Linked DNA regions of Homo sapiens: all the other regions are linked to region 5. Evidence: promoter capture Hi-C in 16 types of primary human blood cells and fetal thymus (Javierre and others, 2016). All regions are on one chromosome and are shown on one strand. The core of a region is centred on a gene start or on the middle of the fragment in contact, and the rest is flanking DNA. Distances in the headings are between cores, read along the strand shown. Region 1 has its middle 17 kb from the start of HPSE. Region 2 overlaps COQ2 (coenzyme Q2, polyprenyltransferase). Region 3 overlaps HPSE (heparanase). Region 4 overlaps HPSE (heparanase). Region 5 holds the start of THAP9 (THAP domain containing 9). Region 6 holds the start of LOC105377310 (a long non-coding RNA gene). Region 7 overlaps COQ2 (coenzyme Q2, polyprenyltransferase).

The links. Contacts are between HindIII fragments. The CHiCAGO score rates a contact against its expected background, and 5 or more counts as called.
Region 1: a fragment that was not itself captured here is called in contact with the fragment with the promoter of THAP9 in region 5 in 1 of 17 cell types (naive CD4 T cells); the score reaches 5.3 in naive CD4 T cells.
Region 2: a fragment that was not itself captured here is called in contact with the fragment with the promoter of THAP9 in region 5 in 16 of 17 cell types (fetal thymus, naive CD8 T cells, total CD8 T cells and 13 more); the score reaches 21.6 in fetal thymus.
Region 3: a contact is called between a fragment that was not itself captured here and the fragment with the promoter of THAP9 in region 5, in 1 of 17 cell types (total B cells). The highest score is 6.4, in total B cells.
Region 4: a contact is called between a fragment that was not itself captured here and the fragment with the promoter of THAP9 in region 5, in 5 of 17 cell types (naive CD8 T cells, monocytes, non-activated CD4 T cells and 2 more). The highest score is 7.8, in naive CD8 T cells.
Region 6: a contact is called between a fragment that was not itself captured here and the fragment with the promoter of THAP9 in region 5, in 1 of 17 cell types (naive CD4 T cells). The highest score is 5.2, in naive CD4 T cells.
Region 7: a fragment that was not itself captured here is called in contact with the fragment with the promoter of THAP9 in region 5 in 1 of 17 cell types (total CD8 T cells); the score reaches 7.0 in total CD8 T cells.

The regions. Positions count from the first base shown.
Region 1 is chr4:83,350,713-83,353,529 of GRCh38, forward strand. No RefSeq gene overlaps it. Among named protein-coding and RNA genes, the nearest start is that of HPSE, 17 kb to the left of the region's middle. The HindIII fragment of the contact is 306 bases long and covers 1,390-1,695 here.
Region 2 is chr4:83,280,797-83,283,670 of GRCh38, forward strand. All of the region lies in intron 1 of COQ2 (coenzyme Q2, polyprenyltransferase), which reads right to left. Among named protein-coding and RNA genes, the nearest start is that of COQ2, 2.6 kb to the right of the region's middle. The HindIII fragment of the contact is 3,876 bases long and covers 1-2,874 here.
Region 3 is chr4:83,301,384-83,304,185 of GRCh38, forward strand. It overlaps HPSE (heparanase), which reads right to left. Exons shown (of 12, transcript NM_001098540.3): 10 at 767-885. Among named protein-coding and RNA genes, the nearest start is that of COQ2, 18 kb to the left of the region's middle. The HindIII fragment of the contact is 992 bases long and covers 800-1,791 here.
Region 4 is chr4:83,331,356-83,334,106 of GRCh38, forward strand. The region is part of intron 1 of HPSE (heparanase); the gene reads right to left. Among named protein-coding and RNA genes, the nearest start is that of HPSE, 2.1 kb to the right of the region's middle. The HindIII fragment of the contact is 1,049 bases long and covers 881-1,929 here.
Region 5 is chr4:82,899,132-82,901,984 of GRCh38, forward strand. It overlaps THAP9 (THAP domain containing 9), which reads left to right and starts at 1,604. Exons shown (of 5, transcript NM_024672.6): 1 at 1,604-1,751. The coding sequence starts at 1,672. THAP9-AS1 (THAP9 antisense RNA 1) reads right to left here and starts at 1,785. Exons shown (of 4, transcript NR_034077.1): 1 at 1,203-1,785; 2 at 946-1,092. It also overlaps a transcript of SEC31A not described here. RefSeq lists enhancers at 1,049-1,568, 1,184-1,303, 1,569-2,088 and a silencer at 1,614-1,963. The HindIII fragment of the contact is 4,998 bases long and covers 1-2,853 here.
Region 6 is chr4:82,467,852-82,470,733 of GRCh38, forward strand. LOC105377310 (a long non-coding RNA gene) reads left to right here and starts at 1,154. Exons shown (of 3, transcript XR_007058164.1): 1 at 1,154-2,466. The HindIII fragment of the contact is 581 bases long and covers 1,336-1,916 here.
Region 7 is chr4:83,263,378-83,266,234 of GRCh38, forward strand. COQ2 (coenzyme Q2, polyprenyltransferase) reads right to left here. Exons shown (of 7, transcript NM_001358921.2): 7 at 447-986. The coding sequence ends at 822. Among named protein-coding and RNA genes, the nearest start is that of COQ2, 20 kb to the right of the region's middle. The HindIII fragment of the contact is 4,496 bases long and covers 1-2,857 here.

The sequences.
Region 1 (2,817 bases), core at 293-2,792, 450 kb after region 5:
TCACACTATACCCACTTAATAATTGAAAAGGATATCTTTTCACTGTAATAAACATGTTTTCATGCTCCATTTTAATAGCTGCAGAGTTTTTTACATATTAGATGTGTGGCAGCGTAAAACTTTGGCAGCAGTTCTCAAAATTTCTGATCCCAGGAACCATTTACACTATTACAAATTACTGGGGATTCCAAAGAGTTTTTTTCACATGGGTTACATCTGCAATATTTGATGCACTAAAAATTAAAACTGAGACATTTAAAAAATATTTGTTAAATAATTAAGAGTAACTATAACAAATACTTTTTTTCTTTTAGAGACAGGATCTTGTTCTGTTACCCAGGCTGAAGGTCAGTGGCATGATCATAACTCACTGTAACCTCAAACTCTTGGGCTCAAGCAATCCTCTCACCTCAGCCTTCCAAGTAGCTAGGACTGCTGTCAAGTACCATCACACCTGGCTTATTTATGTATTTATTATTTTACTTTAAAGTTCTGGGACACATGTGTAGAACATGCAGGTTTGTTGCATAGATATACATGTGCCATGGTGGTTTGCTGCATCTATCAACCTGTCATCTAGGTTTTAAGCTCCGCATGCATTAGGTATTTGTCCTAATGCTCTCCCTCCCCTAGCTCCCACACCCCCCGACAGGTACCGGAGTGTGATATCTCCCTGTGTCCATGTATCCTCATTGTTCAGCTCCCACTTATGAGTGAGAACATGCCATGTTTGGTTTTCTGTTCCTCCTGGCTAATTTTTAAAAAACATCTTTTGTAGAAATGGGGGTCTTGCTATGTTGCCAAGGCTGGTCTCGAACTCCTGGCCTCAAGTGATTCTCCTGCTTTGTCCTTCCAAAGTGGTGGGATTACAAGCATGAGCCACTGCACCTGGCCATAAACACATTTCATATTAATATAAATAGCATATTTTTATTAAAAAAACTATGTTTAAAACAAGAAAATCAGCGAGAAAAGTAGCATTGTTTTATCTGCAAATCACTTTAGTGTCTCACTTAACAAAAGGCGGCTGGATTCTCACTTAACAAAAGGTGGCTGGATTCTTACATGAATATCAACATTAAATTTGTTACATCATAATACATCATGTAGTGTCTGGAAAATCGCACTGTCCTCTCAGGAGAGAATGAGGGTGAAAGGAACAAATGACATTTTAATATTATTATGAAAAGAGTTTTGACTTCACAGACCCCTTGCAGGGGTCTCCAGACTCTTAGGAGGTCTGTGGACCACATCTTAGGAATTGTTTTAGAGATGTTACTCTATGTCCCTTTTTTCTTTCTAGTCTTCTTTTTTGAACAAGTAGCAAGCTTGGCTCATTGTTTCAAATGTAGGATGTGACACAGCGGGGCAAAAAAAAAGCAGAGAACAAGCTTTTATTTTCAAAAGCCTAAACCTAAATCCATTAAGATTCTGTGAGGTGCCTCAGAGTTAACACCTCACCACGGTGCAGTTTCCTAACCTACTGCACACCTTGACACACATAGAAAATGACAGCATTTGTAGAGCACTCTGGGAAAGCTGATGCTTTCGAGGGAATCCGCACACCCTTGGTGTAAAATACATTTTGTATGTTATATAATTATGATAAGAAGCATAAAATACAGGCCACACGTTTGCTAAATATTTTATTTGTAAACAACCTCCAAATGCTGTTTCTTACATTTTCTTAATCAAAGCTTGAATTCATGAAGATAACATTTTTTTTTTTGAGACAAGGTCTCACAGTGTCACCCAAGCTGGAGTGCAGTGGTGCAATCATGGCTCACTGCAGCCTCAATCTCCCAGGCTCAATCAATCCTTCTGCCTCAGCCTCCCAAGTAACTGGGACTACAGGTGCACATCATCATGCCCTGCTAAGTTTAAAATTTTTTTGTAGAGACAGGGTCTTGTTATGTTGCCCAAGCTGGTCTCCAACTCCTGGGCTGAAGCAATCCTCCTGTCTCGGCCTCTCAAAGTATTGGGATTACAAGTGTGAGCCACCATGTCTGGCTAGAACATAACTATTTAATATTCAGTGTATTTGAAATGTCTGTCCACCATCTTAATTAATGATTTTCAATAATCTCTTCAAATTCCTAATAAAAACTTTGCTCATGCAAGTAGGTAATAAACAATTTAAAAAATTTTAACAGTTGTATTTATTAAAAGAATCTCACAGCAATTCCTTTCTTTCATGAGAAAGATAATGTTGACCCAGAGTCAAATCTTAAAAAAGACAATGTTGAAATTTTTTGTGATAAAGTAAATGAATTTTAGATACAATTGAACATTTTCACATTACATATTGTAAAATAGTGATGAAGCTGCAATTGACAGAAAGGGCTTGCCGATGGCCGAGGGGCAGGTGGACCAATAGATGTTCCAGGTGATACCTGGGTGGACAGATGAGTGGAAGATCACTTCCTCCTGTCATCTGCCTGCTCCTGGCCTCACTCCTGACATGCATCACTCCTCAGCACTGTGCAAGTGCCCCAGAACTCAGACACAACCCTGCAGAACAGGGAAACATTTTAAGTTTTCTATCATTTCTATCCTCTTATTATAATAAAAATTGTAAACATACATAAAAGTTTGTAACCACCACCTAGATTCTACAATTAACTATGTGTCTATCCATTCAATCATCCCTCTCTCTATTCATCAATCTATCTTATTTTTTTAAATTGAGATACAATTCTCATAGCATAAATTCACCATTTTAAAGTGTACAATTCAGGGGTTTTAGTATATTCACAAGGTTGTGCAACCATCAATACTATCTAATTCCGTAACATTCTCATCACTCCAAAGAGAAAC
Region 2 (2,874 bases), core at 337-2,836, 380 kb after region 5:
CCTGAATTCAGGTTGTCCTGGACAGACTCATACTTGGTGCACTCCACAGTAACAATGGCTAATATTTACGGAGTGCTCACAAAGCATCAGGCAGTGTTCTAAATGCTTTATATGTCTAAACTTATTTAATCTTCAATGACATCTTTATATTAAACTTATTTATTTATATATTTACATTAGAGACAGGGTCTCGCTCTCTTGCCGAGGCTGGAGTGCAGTAACAAGGTCATAGTTCACTACAGCTTCTGACTTCCAGGCTCAAGCAATACTTCCACCTCAGCCTCCCAAGTAACATCTTTACATAGTAGGTACTGTTAATAACCCTATCTTACAGATGAGGAAACAGATAAACAGAGTGGTTTAAGTAAAACACAGTAGGTTTAACTACTTTCTTTACCCTGGAGCTATGAGTATAGTTCACAAGGGACAGAGGAGTAGCTGATCCTATCCTCCTAGGCTAGAGAAGAGAGAATACCACTTCACAGCTATTATTTCCTGGTACAATTAGAACAGAAGGTTCCACTAAAAAGAAAAAAATTCTAGACAGAAAGACGTGTAACCACTTATAGTGTTTTCTGTCAGGAACAAAACTTCCTTGGCCAAAAATCTGTATTAAAAGTACCGTATTCACTTACTGATAGGAATCTGTAGAGCTCCCCTACAGATGACAAGGGTTCCTACAGTGAAGGGGAAAGTAAGAAGACTTCTCAGTTCTATGTCTGCCACTTGTAAGTTGAGTGACACTAGACAGTAAAGTATCTTAAGGCTTAAGTCTTTGTTTCATCTGTAAATGAGGGAAGAGAACAGCTACCTCACAGAGTCGTTAAGAGATGACAATATTAATGATGTTATGACAACCGTAATAACAGATACATGGCACTTACTGTACCAGGTGGTTTCACAGAACACTTTTGACTCTCACAACAAGCCTATTCGATAGGCACTATTTTTATTACAACCATTTTACAAATACAGAAACTGACGCAGAGAGGGAGTAATTGTGCCCAAGACCACACAGGTAAAAAAAGGCTAAGGTGGTATTCCAACCCAGACAGTCTGGCTGCAGTCTGTGTCCTAAGTCCAATGCTGTCACTCTGTACTCCCTAAATCTCTCCATACACTTCAGTTTCACCTGTTCTTTTGTCCCTACTGATTCCTAGCAATGTTTTTTTTTTTTTGTCTTCCATATGACACTTTCATTCCCCATACTTTTCTGTGAAGAAAGACGCAGAGGTAGCAAAGACAAGAGACAAGTAGATTGCAAAAAGAAATGTTTTTGTAGAAAAGGGAAAAACTCTATGGGAGATGAAATAAAATGAGCAAGTTCTGAGGGGTGATGGACAGATCAAAAACAGATGATCTTCAAGACAACATAATCACCCATAAACGTGGTAAAACAAAAAATTACACTTCCAATTTGGTGGAAAGAGTGCCACCTGCTGACACTTTCTGGAATAAGGTAGTTTAGCCCATTTGAAAGAAGCTGTATTGCCTTCTCAAAAACAACGAAAACCTACTATTGATCAATGAAGGTAACAAGATATAACTTCAACAAAGTAAAACAACGAACACATAATTATCCCACAAAATAAGAATTTAAATAAAGAATTATCAAACCTGGAATTCTACTCCTGTCAATTATTGTTTCTGGCATATGGTAGGGGTTCAAAATACATTTGTTGAGCGAATTCTAACATAGTACTATTTAGTTTTCTGAAAAATCCTGTAATGATCACCTTATTTAGAACCAAACCATGCAGGCTGGTATCTTCCAAACATACACAATCTGTAAGTACAATTTTCTCCATTCCCCACTTCTAAGATAATAATGGCTATTTCTTCAGCACATATTATGACAGGCACTGTTCTAAGCACTTAACATATATTAATGAATTTTCGTGACCTCATAACGTCCATATTATCATTAATAGTATCTTCATTTTACAGATGAAAAACGGATGCCCAGAGAGGTGAAGTAATTTATCCAAGGTCCCTCAGATGAGCAGGGTGGAGGTTCACATCCAAGAGGTTTGGCTCCAAAGTTTTGCTCATAACCCCTTTGTTGCCTTCTGTTACATGGCGGAAGGTCCAGCCACTAAGATAGAAGCCAGAGGTTTAACTGGGGAAATGGGAATAATGGCAGATGTTCATCTATAAGGCTACACTGCCACTCCATGCCACAGACTCCAAGAACAGAATTACAGCCAGGCTTCAGATTGGAACTGGGCTTGGAAATGCATGCCTCTCAACGTGAATGTGGCCCCAAAACTCATGGGGGTCATACACAGCTTCCCAATGATGGCAGGGCTGTACCTATCATTCAGTAGGCTTTTATGCTTTGATAGCTGATTGTTATAACTTAGTGCTCTAATCCCAAATAGGTCGTGCATAAATCTAGAATACCAAAAGCAAGGCCTAATTCGGGTCTTGTACGGGCAAAAGTGGAGTAAATGTACCTAGGCCTTTGACTACATCTCCATACACTGCAATGGCAAATGTCATCATCTAGATTGGCTGGAGTTCATCCTTCACTTCTTCCTCCACGCTATCCAGCTTCTTCAGATATGTTCTTGTCTAGTCTCGTTTCCCATTTTCCACACCCACTTGGTGTTCCAGGTCAGGCTCGTATTCTTAGTGTTCTAACACTCCACCCTTGGGTCTTTGCAAAAGTACTTCCCGCACTAAGATCTCTTCCCTCCTCTGCAAAATCAACTTGTCCTTTGGAGTATAATTTCTTCTCGAAACTTTCCAGCAAGGGATCCACAGTAATTTCTCTTTTTCCTGTAGCACTTGCTTTTGTATCACTCATATTTGATCCATATTTTCCTAGCTCACCAAATAGTCTTTTTCAACTAGACCAGAGTTCCTTGAAAG
Region 3 (2,802 bases), core at 46-2,545, 400 kb after region 5:
CCAGCTGGGTTGTTAAGAGGCCAGCCAGACTATCCATTTTCAGACATAGGAAGGTAAAAGGCAAATTTTGTGGGTTCATGTGAATTCAAATTATAAACCATAAAAACAGGGGCTTTTCCTAGCCTTATAAAAAGACTGAAATGTATAAGAAAATTAAATCTACTGACATTTTTTATGAATTTATCCATTCAAACCATTCCCCTCGCTACTTCCTACTGGGGTCCTCACTATCCAGAGTTCCCAGTCACCAACAATCGGAAATGGTAGCTGGTCTTTTTTGGCTAGAATTAGTATTTCAGCATCATCTTATCAGGAATGATAGATTGAAACCTATCTAGAGAATATTCCTGAGATTTAGGAACATTTTTTGCTACCTAAAGCAAGAGTATGAGGCTACAAAAATCTCGATGTCTTCTCAACTCCAGAAACTGCGGTCACAACTTTTGAAAATAATATTGTTGTTATTATTGTTCTCCTCTTCAAGAATCACTTGAACCCGGGAGGCGGAGGTTGCAGTGAGCTGAGATTGCACCACTGCACTCCAGCCTGGGTGACGAGCGAGGCCCCGTCTCAAAAAACAACAACAACAAAAGTAGCATTTTTCTTCTAAAAATAAAATAAAATAAAATCGTTGTATAAAACTTTACTAAATTGCAACTGCCTATACTTATGCAATGTATAGACACATGCAACAGGGTGTTTGAGTAAAGTTACAGGCTTACCCACTAAAACTTGATGATTGGTAAAGGGTGTGTTTCATACTTACTTGTCAGTGTTTGTGCAATGAAGGTATACTCGAAGCTTCCTTCTCTTTGAACCTTGCACGCTTGCCATTAACACCTTGGTGCCCACCAATTTCTTGAACAGAAGAGATAGCCAATAATCCTAGTTGTGGTGGTTGGGGAGAAAGAGACAAAAATAGATGTTTACTTATGTCCTTATTTAATGAAACCAGTGGCAAGCAAATAGTTATCCTACAAAGAGTATCACTGTTATCCTGGGGGCATTTAAATAGGATTCATCTTTTTTTTTTTTTTCCCCTCACATGTGACCACCATGAATCTGAGAGCAGTATCGTGCTTGCTGCTTTTTATCACTGGAGGACACAATTCAAAAGGCCATAGCCTGTAGGGGATATCTGTCAAGAATGATCAGAGTTTAAGTATTCTTGGTTATCGTTCATCCAAGAATTCAAAGCAAAGCTCAAAGCCAAACTTTTAGACACACACACATACACAAACACATGTACACACAAAGACAAATTTTTAAAGTAAAACTTCTGTCTGTTTAGAGACAAATAATTTCATTTAGGCCAGGCACGGTGGCCAAAGTGTAATCCCAGGATTTTGGGAAGCTGAAGTGGGTAGATCACTTGAACCCAGGAGTTCAAGACCAGTCTGGGAAACATGATGAAACCCCTTCTGTACACAAAATACAAAAAATTAGCCAGGTGTGGTGGTGTGCACCTGTAGTTCCAGGTACCCAGGAGGCTGAGGTGAGAAGATCACCTGATCCCAGGAGGTCAAGGCTGCAGTGAGCCGTGATTGTGCCACTGCACTCCAGCCTGGGAAACGAAATGAGACACTGTCTCAAAATAACAGTTAAAAAAATCTTAAAAAAAAATTTATTTTAAAACCTTATTCCCCCCACCCCAATAAAGTAATGGATTAGGCAATGGTCATCAGTAGCTGTCAAGATCAAAACCAGACACAACCAGACATTCTGTGCTTCCAGAAGCAGATAATAAAGAATTCTTGCAAAAAAATACAATTAAAAACCTGAATAAACTCAAGCTTCTAGGTATAACTACCAGTTTACAGGAAACACAGGGGACAGAGGAACATGCTAAATGATATCATAGGGAATAAATTTAGCAAACTCTATAATGTAGGAAATACTATAGAACAAATTACCTGTTTTTTCACATTAATAAATTACAAGAGATGAAAGAGAGGGAGGAATAACTTAAAGATGAACAAACTTAAGAGACTTATCAACCAAATGTAATATATGGACCTTGTTTGGATTCTGATTTGAATAACTATCAACAATATTTTAGACAAGGAAAATGTGAGACACTGACAAAATATTTGGTGATACTAAGGAATTATTGTTATTATTTAAAGTATGATAAAAGTATTGTGTTTTTACAAAAAGGATACATACTAAAATATGTATTTTTTTGAGACATGGTCTTACTCTGTCACCCAGGCTGGAGTGCAGTGGTGTGAATGCAGCTTACTGCAGCCTCAACCTCCTGGGCTAAAGCGATCCTCCTGCCTCAGCCTCTCATGTAGCTGGGACCACAGGCATGTGCCACCATGCCCAGATAAGTTTTTGATTTTTTGTTGCCGTAGCTGGTCTTGAACTCCTGGGCTCAAGTGATCCTCCTGCCTCAGCTTCCCAAAGTGTTGGGATTACAGGTGTGAGCCACCACACCTAGCACATACTGAAATATTTATAGATAAAGTAATATATCTGAAATTTGCTTCAAAGTAATCTAATAGGTAGGAGGTGAAAAGTGGGAAGGATTACGGATTAAACAAGATCAAAGTATGCAGGAGGAAATTATATTTTCCTCCTACTCTTTAGTTCTTAGTTGGGATGGACCTCTGTAACAAGACAGAAAACAGGAGAAAACAAACAGAAGCTTGTTAACATGTATATTAATACATGTATGTTAACAGAAAATACCAGGGAACAAGTAATTCTCAAAGAGGTGGCTTAGAACTCCAGCTTATAGAGCAAATTTTTGGACAAGAGACATGACAAAGGAAAAGGATTTTTAGTCTCTGGGGTGGC
Region 4 (2,751 bases), core at 155-2,654, 430 kb after region 5:
TTGAACTAAATAAAATTATTAAAATTAATTTCACTTGTTTCTTTTTACCTTTTTAATATGGCTACTAGAAAATTTAAAATTACATATGACCTTGCATATGAGGCCCACATTATATTATATTTCCATTGGACAGTGTTGATTTAGGGCTGGGCTCTCTTTGGAGTTCTGCACACAGTTAGGCTTAGGAAGTATTTTGATTGGTTTCTTGATTAAGTCCCTCTGGGAAGACGACAAATTGAAAGATTTTTTCTTTCAAATTTTAGATTGCTCTATCATTGGTATTTAAGTTTTGTGTGGAGTTGGGCTGTACACAATGTATTTGCCATCATGGAGACTAGAACCACGCCAGTGACTAAGTTTGCTTAGGCCTCTTTGAAGTACCTTAGATGAAGGTTTGGGCCCTGATACTGTTACTCTCATGTGAATGCTTCTTTTCATTATATCAATCTCTCAATTCCTTTCCAAACAATCTTTTTCTACCATATCCTACTCTCTTTCCTTTAAAAAATATAATCTGCTTTCCCTTTTTATGGGCACTATTATCTCATGTGATCAGAGTCTAGTTTCAAACTGTGGCCAAGTTACTTAACCTCCCTGAGCCTCACTTTCTTCATTTTTAAAATGGGGGTGACAAAACTAGTCACTCACAGTGTTGTAGCCAAGACTAAATGGATTAATACCTAGAAGGTGCTTAGAACAGGGCCAGGCAAATGACAAGAACTGAGGAAGTGTCAGCTGTTTGTGTCCTCCTCTCTTTCCTTATTCCTTCAGCTTTCGTCTGCTCAGCTCTTGCCATCCCGCCCACACATCTTCACTTTTGAGGAACTGTAATAAATTAAACAACAGGCGTCTTACTCTCCTCTACTGTGGACCCCTACAAAGCTTAGTGTTGTCTTCTGAGATGGCTGGGCTGTTTGGGCCCTGTGCCCCTCCTGGGGAGATGGACCCTCACACTCTAATTTAGAAGCTAGGTCTTAGATGAGGAGAGGGGGTTCCTCCCTCTTTTAGGTCTTAGCAGATAACACTCTGGGTGTGCTTGTCGATGCGTCTGGGGAGCAGGTATGGCAGATGGCCTCTCCAAGCGAAGCGGGCTGGAACAGACAGCAGCCAGCCTTGGAGAGAAGCACGTATGGACAAGAATGAACTGTTTTGTAAACCAGAAAAAAAGTTTTATGTATCACATGTTATGCTCTCTTGGTATTTCATTATACTCCAGTCTTTAACAAAAAGGTGCAGAGGAGGGGAAAAAAGGGTGCTCTGGGAAATGAAGAGATGTATTTAAGAAGAATAAAGGTATCATCCTCACTAAATTGCAGATTGGAATTTCTACGTGTTAGGGGGGTGTTAGTCAATTGCGGGGAGCTTGACTGCTGGGTGATCAGGCCCAGATCCTGGAAGTCCCACTGTATGTTTTTTCTTTTGGACCTGTTACTCCAGGGGGGAACCCCCATCTGTCCTTTCTTGGGGAGAGGTTGGGGAATATGCTGGCTACAGCAATAGAAGAGGCCTCAGGTCCTCACATTTCAGTAAATGGACATCTACTTCATACCCATGTTCAGTAACCGCCCCCCCCCACCCCACACCCCAGCAAGCTAAGACTGGGGTCCTGTGATCTGGAGCCCTATGGTTCAGCATTTCTCTGGAACAATCTTCCTATCCCCCAACTAGTTGCTGCCTAGTATCAGCTTCCTATCCTTAAGGGGAAGGGCAGAAAGTAAGGATTCTTCCCCACCAGAAAATTGTAGTGCCAGAAGGAAAAGGAGAGGTTAACTATGATCCAAAGAAACAGAAAACCGGTGAATGGCTACCAAATGCTCACCATGTCCTAGAAAGAAACAATTCGTTTGAAACGTCAAACACTTACTATGGGTCAAACACTGAGAAGCTCTTACCATATCATCAAATCCTCGGGCAATAATCCTTGAGGCAAGCTTGAGAAATTCCATTCTACAGCTGAAGAAATCAAGGTTGGTGTGGCCAAGAGATATGGAAAAACCAAGTCACTCATCTTTGCCAGAGCTGAGAGTCAAGCCAGGATGGTCTGTCCATCTCTTAACCAGTACACTACCCATTAAATTAGCGCTGGCAACTATAGTGTGGGCTCAGGGAGGACAGCATCTAGGTATTTGACACAGAGGTGAGATAATGGTGATCTTTCCCTCTATCTGGGCTGGTCAAGATGTGGCCATCTCTGGAGGCTCCCAGGGCCTAAATAAGAGGCCTAGAAGACCTGGGATTGTCCCTGTAGCTCCCCATCTTGGAGTCAGCCTGCATTCATGGGGCAGGAGCCCTGAACCTGCATCAGGTTCCTTCTTTCTCAGGTAAGGAAAAAACTTAGAGCTGATAAGGCAGCACCACATTTTGCAGCCCCATTTTGGAGAGACATCTTTTTATTAGGACTTTGTAAGTCACTGCAGTAGTCTCCTAGGTCTCATTTATTGAATATTTAGATTTTTATTCCTGTTCTGTGACGCCCTTTTCATCTGCCTAAAAAAAAAAAAAGAAAAGAAAAAAGAAAAAGAAAAGAAAAGAAAGAGAAATCTTCCTAACACAGTCTTAAATACAGAAGGCTATGCACAATCTTACTTGTCCTACACTGCACAGCAAATCAAGCACTCACAGGCCTTCAGGTGCACCTGCCTGGTTTCCCTCCTCTTGGCTAGGGAAGTACTGGGGCAAGTGGGCAGTTTCTTTTTCAAATTTCCACTTATACCTGACCTTAGGTGGTGCCTATTCAACACTTACAGAATG
Region 5 (2,853 bases), core at 354-2,853:
CACTTACATGAAGTGTACAGAGCAGGCAGAGGCACACGGAAACTAAATTAGTGTTTGCTGAGCGGGGTGGGGGAATATTTGGAGGTGCTGCTAGTAAGAATGAGGTTTCTTTCTGGAGTGATGAAAATGTTCTAATATTGATTGTGACTGTTCCACAATTCTGTGCATATACTAAAACCCACTGAATTGTACACTTTAAACCAATTAGTTGTGTGGTATGAGAATTATATCTGAGTAAAACTGTTACAAAAATATAAGGCAACTAATTTTTTCCTTAAAGATAGCTAAAAACAATGTTATTTTTATTCAGCCTCACTCGGGTCTTAATTGGTTGAGCAGGAAAAGGCTCTAACAGCCCAACCAACTTACAGTATTTAAATCCAGTTCTTACTCTCTGCACACACCTTACAGCCAAAAAGTATTTGCCCTGCACATCCCCCAGGGACCAATTTTTCCAAAGTTCCTTGACCATCTATCCTTAGGCCATGTGACTTTTAAGGAACCATAACCAAAAGCTATTAATTCCATTCAGAGAAGATACAAGCATATTATAATGGAAAACTGGTGTGAATAAGTAATACCTTAATATGTATCTTCGGCTGTAATCTGGACAAAGTAAACACAAAGGGGAAAAAGAAGCAATCTTGTTAGGCCTGGATATTTGGAATTATTTTTGTGTGCTATACAAAGAAACGGAAAAGTTGCAAACCCTTCTCTGTTTTCTGTATGCTAAGGATCTCCTTCTCAGAGACAAAAACCCACTGGCCCGTTTCCTTCTCTAAGCAAATTGAAATCTCTTCCTCAAACATAAGAGCTTATAACTAAGACATTGTTCTAAGCTCTATCTCCTGAAAGCTATTCATAATGCCTCATTCCCAACCAAAACCACTTAATTGCCCCTTGTCCCCTGCCCCTATTACTACTGAGGAGCCCCAAGAACCTTACCTTATTTCCTTCATTGTGGCAAAGTGTTTCAGAAAAGGGTTCCTTGAATTAAAAGTCGGCGTATCCTATTTGACTCCTGCTCCTCCGGTATCACATACCTACAGCCAACCATGCCAAGAGCTTCCCCATTATCTCCGCATCGGAGAGCTACAAGATAAAGCGCAAGAACACGACACGCATCTCAGTAAATCATATATTTTTGGCCCGACTCTGTCTTCAACACACCTAAGGCACCGTGTTTTATCCCTCTTCCATACCCTTTCCTCCCGATATCCTCCAGTTTCAGAGACCGCACCCGGAGACCCATTGGCAGGTTCCTGGATTCGCCTCAATTTTGGTCCTGCCTCTCTGCTTCGCATTTTCAGGCTTGGCCTCACAAGAAGGACGATGGCGCCAGATTGTGCCAGAATGGGTGAAAACAGAAGGAAAATAAACCGGTTGCAGCAAAACCCACTATTCCGCCTCCAACGCGGAGGGAGGAGCGGTCAAATGCACGTCTTCAGGCTCAGGCCCTTCCGATTGGCTGCTGGGACACAACGTGGCCTGTCATTGGCTACGGCACCGGCGCAGGGCCTTCGGAGAGGAAGTGTGGAAGTCCCGCGCCTCTAAAGCCCGCCTTTCGTGACAAATAAAGGTCGTAGCCGCAGAGTCAACGGGCGGAGCTAAAGTGGTCGTGATTCATGCTGTCGCGGGAACCCCGAAGGTGGGGCCCCACGTAACAAGAAGATGACCCGAAGTTGCTCCGCAGTGGGCTGCAGCACCCGTGACACCGTGCTCAGCCGGGAGCGCGGCCTCTCCTTCCACCAGTGCGTATGGGAGCAGCCTCGAAGCCTTCGAACTCCCTGCGGGGCCCGGCGGGCCGTGGCGTGGCGTGGGGCGGGGCCGGGCCGCACTGTGGGTCGCGCCGCGTGTGTGACGCGACGTGACGTGCGCAGCGTCGGGGCGTGGGAGCGGAATTGGGGCACTGTGAGAATTGAGATTCTCTCTCTTCCCGCCCAGTGTTTACCTCTGAATAGCCGGTTCTCGCACCGCCTACCGCTTTAAGGAGAGTTACGCGAAAGGAGTCCTCCATTAATTGGATGGTCTTATTATTTGAAGTGAGGAGGCCGAAAGGGAAGGCAGTTTAGGACAACGGTTGAAGTGTGTGTGTGGCGTCTTCCTGAGCACGAGTACAGATCAGTTTTCTCCTGTACTGCCTGACATTGCAAGTTCTTAAGTGCTGTTAGCCGAGCTGTGCAAGGCCGGTCCGATTCTGGCTGGATTTGATCATGGCAGGGAAGTTTCATTTGGCTCGACAGTGGGGAAGAATTTCAGATCAGTCTTATCTGAACTCATATCCATGGTTCAGACTGGTATAGGTCATTCAGTATTCAGGGTACACTAGCAAGTAGAAAAGTGGGTAAAATAGATCCTCACAGACAAAAGGAGCAGATTTATGGAAAGATCAAAAAGAACTTTATGGTTGGAAAGGGGGGGTAGGAAGAGGGTAGTTAGGAATGGCATGGGAAAATGTAAAGGATAGAAAGTGCAAATATAGAGGAGTGGAAAAGTACCTGAGAAACCATTTTAAAAATGTAAATGCCAGGTTAAGGAGTTTAGAGTATGTATGGTAGGCTATGTATAAAATTCATTGATTTTTTTTTTTTTTTGTTTTCTATTTTTTAAATAGGGCTGATTCCTCCACCTAAATTGTTAGCAGTGTGAACCAACTCATTGTGTATGTGAGACCATAATTGATTTGGGATTTTTCTTGTGATAGAGGTAGTTTTAAACTAGGGAGACATGAATTCCAATTTTAATTGAGTATTTACTGATGTCTGTACTTGGCTCTGGGTCTTGGTTTCTTCTTCTGTAAGAGGAATAAAAACCTGCCTTGTAGAATTTTGTAAAACTAAAACGTAAGACTTT
Region 6 (2,882 bases), core at 376-2,875, 430 kb before region 5:
GTTAATAAGGGTGGGCCCTAATCCAATGGATTGGTGGCCTTATAAAAGGAGGAGGAGACACCAGAGAACTCTCCACCATGTGAGGACACACTGAGAAGGTGGCATCTACAAGCCAGGAGGAGCCTTCACTAAAAGCCAAATCTGCCAGAACCTTGATCTTGGACTTTGAGCTTCCAGAACTGTAAGAGAATACATTTCTGTCGTTTAAGCCACCCAGTCTGTAGCATTTTGTTACAGCAGCCCAAGCAGACAAACGCACAGCTCAAAACGAATGACCACAATTCTTTGTGAATGAGATCCATTATTCTGCTCCCTCTGGCATTCTTACCTGTGCTAGAAACCTGGGCTCTTACCTTCAAGGCCATCATCACTGAGCACAGGAGTGGGAGTTAGAAGGAGGGTAACTTAAATCACCACAGAGCTTCCTGAGCTTTTGCTGAGATTCAGGTAGTTTTGTAATTGCCCAGCTGGGTTCTTCTTGCCCACTGCCCAGAAAAGCTAATGCACTAAGAGCAGCAAGAGTGTTGCAGCAAATAATTTCATTATCACAGGGCCCACCAAGCAGATGGACGGGAAATAATTCTCAAATCCACCTCCCTGAGAATTCGGGGACTAGGGTTTTTCAAGGATAGTTTGGTGGGCAGGAGGCTAGGGAATGAGTAATGCTGATGGGTTGGGTCAAGGATGAAATCATAGGGGGTTGCTATTCTTTTGCTGAGTTGATATCTGGGTGCAACTTTTTTTAATGGGTGGTGCCAGTTGGTCCATACGAAATTCAAATCTGAAAAATATCTCAAACATCAGTCTTAGGTTTTATAACAGTGATGTTATCCACAGGGGCATTTGGGGGAAGTTACAAATCTTGTGACCAGTGGCTATGTGACTTCTGAGTAGTAAAGAGTTTTTTTTTTTTTTTTAGATGGAGTCTCACTCTATAGCCCAGGCTGGAGTGCTGTGGTGCCATCTCGGCTCACTGCAACCTTCACCTCCCAGGTTCAAGCAATTCTCTGCCTCAGCCTCCCGAGTAGCTGGGATTACAGGCACCCACAACCACACCCGGCTAATTTTTTTGTATTTTTAGTAGAGATGGGGTTTCACCATCTTGGCCAGGCTGGTTTTGAACTCCTGACCTCGTGATCCACCCACCTCAGCTTCCCAAAGTGCTGGGATTATAGGCATGAGCCACCGTGCCGGGCCAAGTAGTTTTAAACAGTCAAGTTATAAAACAATGACTGGTTAGAGTTTAACTCTGCCTACATCTTAGCAGAAGAAACAATGGCTGATTAGAGTTTGTGCCTACATCTTAGCAGAATTCAGGGCCCTATCACATTTCTAAGCTTGAGGCCTTTGGTTAGTTTTACAAAAGCAGTTTTGGTCCTGAGCAAGGAGGGGGTTAGTTATGAGAAGGAACTATTTTCATTTTTGTTTTAACATTAAACTATAAATTCGTAGGCCAGGCACGGTGGCTCACACCTGTAATCCCAGCACTTTGGGAGGCCAAGGTGGGAGGATCACTCAAGACCAGGAGTTCAAGACCAGCCTGGGTAATATGATGAAACCCCATCTATCAAAACAAAAGAAAACAAAACAAAAATTAGCTGGGCATGGTGGTTATGTGCCTGTAGTCCCAGCTACTCAGGAGGCTGAGACAGTAGGATTGCTTGAGGTTGGGAGGTCGAAGCTGCAGTGAGCCATGAGTGTGTCACTGCACTCCAGCCTGGGTGACAGAGTGAAACCCTGTCTCAAAAAATAAAAATAAAAGTAAATACAAAATTCCTCCTATAGTTAGCCTGGAATGAGCAAAGACAGCTTGTGAGGTTAGAAGGAAGATGGAGTCAGTTATGTTAGATTTCCCTCACTCATAATTTTTGCAAAAGTAGTTAGTCTTTCTTGATTAAGTCCTCCTGGTTGCTGTAAGCTTTTGCTTAGGTTCTAGAATTCTAAAAAAGTTGATTCTGGCAGTTTTTGCCAGTTTATTTATTGCTTTTTTGGAGGGACTTTTGATGTTCCTTATTCTTCCCTGTTCATGGATGTCACCCCTACATGCTTTTCTTACAATGTGACTTTTGCAGTCCTCTCACCAAGAGGTGGGGCCTATGTTCCATTCTATGAGACTGGGTGGGACTTACGACTGCTCCAACCAAACAAGGACAACAGAGGCCATGGTTTGTAACTTTCTAAGCTAGGTTATGATACAGCTTCTAGCTGACTCACTTTTTTCAAGAGCTGGGGTTAGACAATTGCTCTGGGGAAGTCAGCTACCACACTGTGAGAAGCCCAGATTCACCCATATGGAGAAAAACTAAGGCCTCAAGCTGACAGCCAGCCTTGACCTCCAGACACAAGAATAGGCTGGTCTTCAGATGCTTCCAGCGTCCAGCCTTCAAGCTCTCTAGTAGAGACCCCAGACTTCAGAGAAAAGCTGTCCCTGCTGTGCCCTGTCTGAATTCCTGACCCACAGAATCTGTGAGTATAATAAATGGTGGCTTTATGCCACTACATTTTGTGATAATCTGTTTGGCAGCCAACGTGAATCAAATAGTACTAAGCAGTGGACAGGATTTTTCATCCGTTTCAGCACAGCGAGGCTTTTAAAAGGCCTCTGCTGGGGTATGCAGTTAGGAACATCGAGATTGTCTCATCATTCCCCCGTCTCCTTCCAAGTGGTGGCATCTCTTATCTTCCTACATTTTGCAAGTGTCCCCATCTTCCCAGTCATACAGGCTTGAACCTTCAGAATGTCTTTGACGCTTTCTTCCCCTTCACCCTCCTCCACAGGCAGCAAGTCACACCTGTTGTCTTTTGCACAGTGCCTCTCAAATTCGTTTTCTTCCCATTCCTAGCAGCCTGTGCTTGAAGCTCCAGTAGTTATTCCTACAAAA
Region 7 (2,857 bases), core at 58-2,557, 360 kb after region 5:
TTTTGTACTGAGTGACCTAGGGAGATCCTGGAGGGTTCTGGGGAGAGGAATGACATGACCTTACTCAGGTTTTAAGAGAATTACTCTGGTTACTGTGTTGAGAACATTGTGAAGGTGAGGGCAGGTAAAGGAAAAAACAGTAAACATTTAAATATCACTATCCTATAAACTATAATGGGATAAGATAAAAAAGATATAGACAGAAAATCAAGGTAGTCTCTGGTGACTGCCCACTTGTCTGTTCTGGTCACTGTGACTGCACACAGAGACCAAATCTCCCAAATAAAAGTCAGGGTTGGTAAACAGTGGTACATGTGGCTATAATAGCTAAATACTTCTATTTGGTTATTTAAATTCTCCTAAAACATAAAAAAACAGAATTGGTTTCCTAAATTACAGTTTTTGGCAGTGACTAAAGGTCACAATAAAGAACAGTAAGGCCCAACTTCCCATAGTTGCTTTTATTTTTCCCTAAAAAAAAGAGTCCATTTTCTTATACAGACATTCATTTATGTAAGACCCACATCAGGCTTTTTCTAAAGTGCCAAAACCCGTGCAATCCCCATAACTTCAGGTGAGAATTATAATGGGCAGAAGAATGTATCAACTAAAATACTCAAGGCCATCTCAAATCCTGAAGAGTCCCTGGTTTCTGTGACAAGGGGGAATTTTGCTAGCAAATAAGTAAAATCCAGGTAAATATGCTCTAAATCTTCATCTTCAGGTTCTTAATTCTTTAACATATTGTATCAGATTTTGTATTCAAATCTAATTATATTTTGTAAAAAATGTTTTAAAAATTCCTAGATAAATTTCATTCATTAATTTTCTATTTTATTCTCTATACCCTTCTTTGTTTTGTCTGTCTTCTTTTCTTTCCACAAATTCCCAAGGACAATCCCTAAAAAAACTATTAGTCCCAGTGTTCGGTTGGAGATAAATTTATTCCAACAATCCTCAGGTCTGTGGATGTCTAGAGTGTAAATCTGCAAGAGAGGAATACAAAGTTGTATTAATACCTAGTCTGGACTTTGGGTCATAACAAATAAACATGTTAACACGGAGGAGAAAACAGCAAATACAAAAAATACAAATATAAAAAATGAAAAATTAGCTAGGCACGAAGGCACATGCCTGTAGTCCCAGCTACTCAAGAGGCTGAGGTGGGAGGATTGCTTGAGGCCAAGAGGTCAAGGCTGCAATAAGCCATGATCACCCTACTGCACCCTCCTAGCCTGGGTGAGAGAGTGAGACTCTATCTCAAAAAAAAAGAAAAAGAAAAAGAAAAATTTACCATATTTTTCACTTGGAATCATCCAAGCTGTTTCTTAAGAATTTTCGGTTGAGGGTTGCATGAATGCTTGTGAGGCAACCCATACTGTTTTTAGTTCTAACGATTTAGAACGTTCTTCCTTATACTGACTGATCTAAAGTCTGTCTCCCTGCAACTCCTACCCTCCAGTTCTGGTTTTAGCGTCTGCAGCAAAGTTTCTCAATGGAGAACAAGTCCCATTTGGGCAGGACAACTCTAATGCAGGGCAATCTGGTGCAGCACAAGATATTGACTGTATCTGGCCATCATCCATATAGTCACCCCTCCTAGTTTATTATAACCAAAAATGCCCTCCCACATTTCTAAATCTCTCCTGTTCAGGGACCTACATTTAGGGAAGGGGAGCTAGAGACCTAAATCTGTTGCTAGTAATCTAGAACAAGCGTACTCCTTTTTCCCCATGGTAGCCCTGCAAATACACTAAGGAAGTCTCACGTATGTTCCTATCTTCCTTAGGCATGGGGGACTATTCTTTATTATGTGGTCTGCAGACTTACAATTATCATGATTTCCTTTCTCTTTAAATACTAAAAGGCTACGTCCATCTTTAAACACTGTATCGAAAACTGGACAGAGAGGCCAGGCGTGGTGGCTCATGCCTGTAATCCCAGCACTTTGGGAGGCTGAGGTGGGCGGATCACTTAAGGCCAAGAGTTTGCGATCAGTCTGGCCAACATGGCGAAGCCCCGTCTCTACTAAAAAAATACAAAAATGAGCTGGGCATGATGGCGTGTGCCTGTGATCCCAGCTACTACGGAGGCTGAGGCACGAGAATCGCTTGAAACCAGGAGGTGGTGGAGGTTGTACTGAGCCAAGATCGTGCCACTTCACTCCAGCCTGGGTGACAGAGGGAAGACTCTGTTTCAAAACAAACAACAACAACAACAACAACAAAACTGGACAGAGGACCATAAATGTGATTTAAAATATAAAGTGGGCTCCAAGTATTTCTTTTTTCTTCCTTTGTTTTTGAGACACAGTTTCCTTCTGTCACCCAGGCTGGAGTGCAGTGGCACCATCTTGGCTCACTGTAACCTCTGCCTCCCAGGTTTCAAGTGATTCTCCTGCCTCAGCCTCTCGAGTGGCTGGAATTACAGGTGCACACCACCATGCCCAGCTAATTTTTGTATTATTAGTAGAGACAGGGTTTATCCATGTTGGCCAGGCTGATCTTGAACTCCTGACCTCAAGTGATCTGCCCACCTCGGCCTCCCAAAGTGTTGGGATTACAGGCGTGAGCCACTGCGCCTGGCCGAATATTCCTTATAGTATTTGTGATTGTCTTAATAATTTTTGCCTTCCTGTACTATTTAATATTCAGGTGTTTAAATATTAACATATACCCATTATCCAGACCAGACAATCAAATGACAATGTCAGCCCTCATGGAGCTGAGCTATGACCAAAAAGGGATGCTGAGAAATTCTGAAGGGAAAAATGGTGACATCCTGGAAAGTCACCAATTCACATTTTAGTTTTCACAGTGAGGAAAACAGTGGAGGGGACACAGCATATGGTTTACTT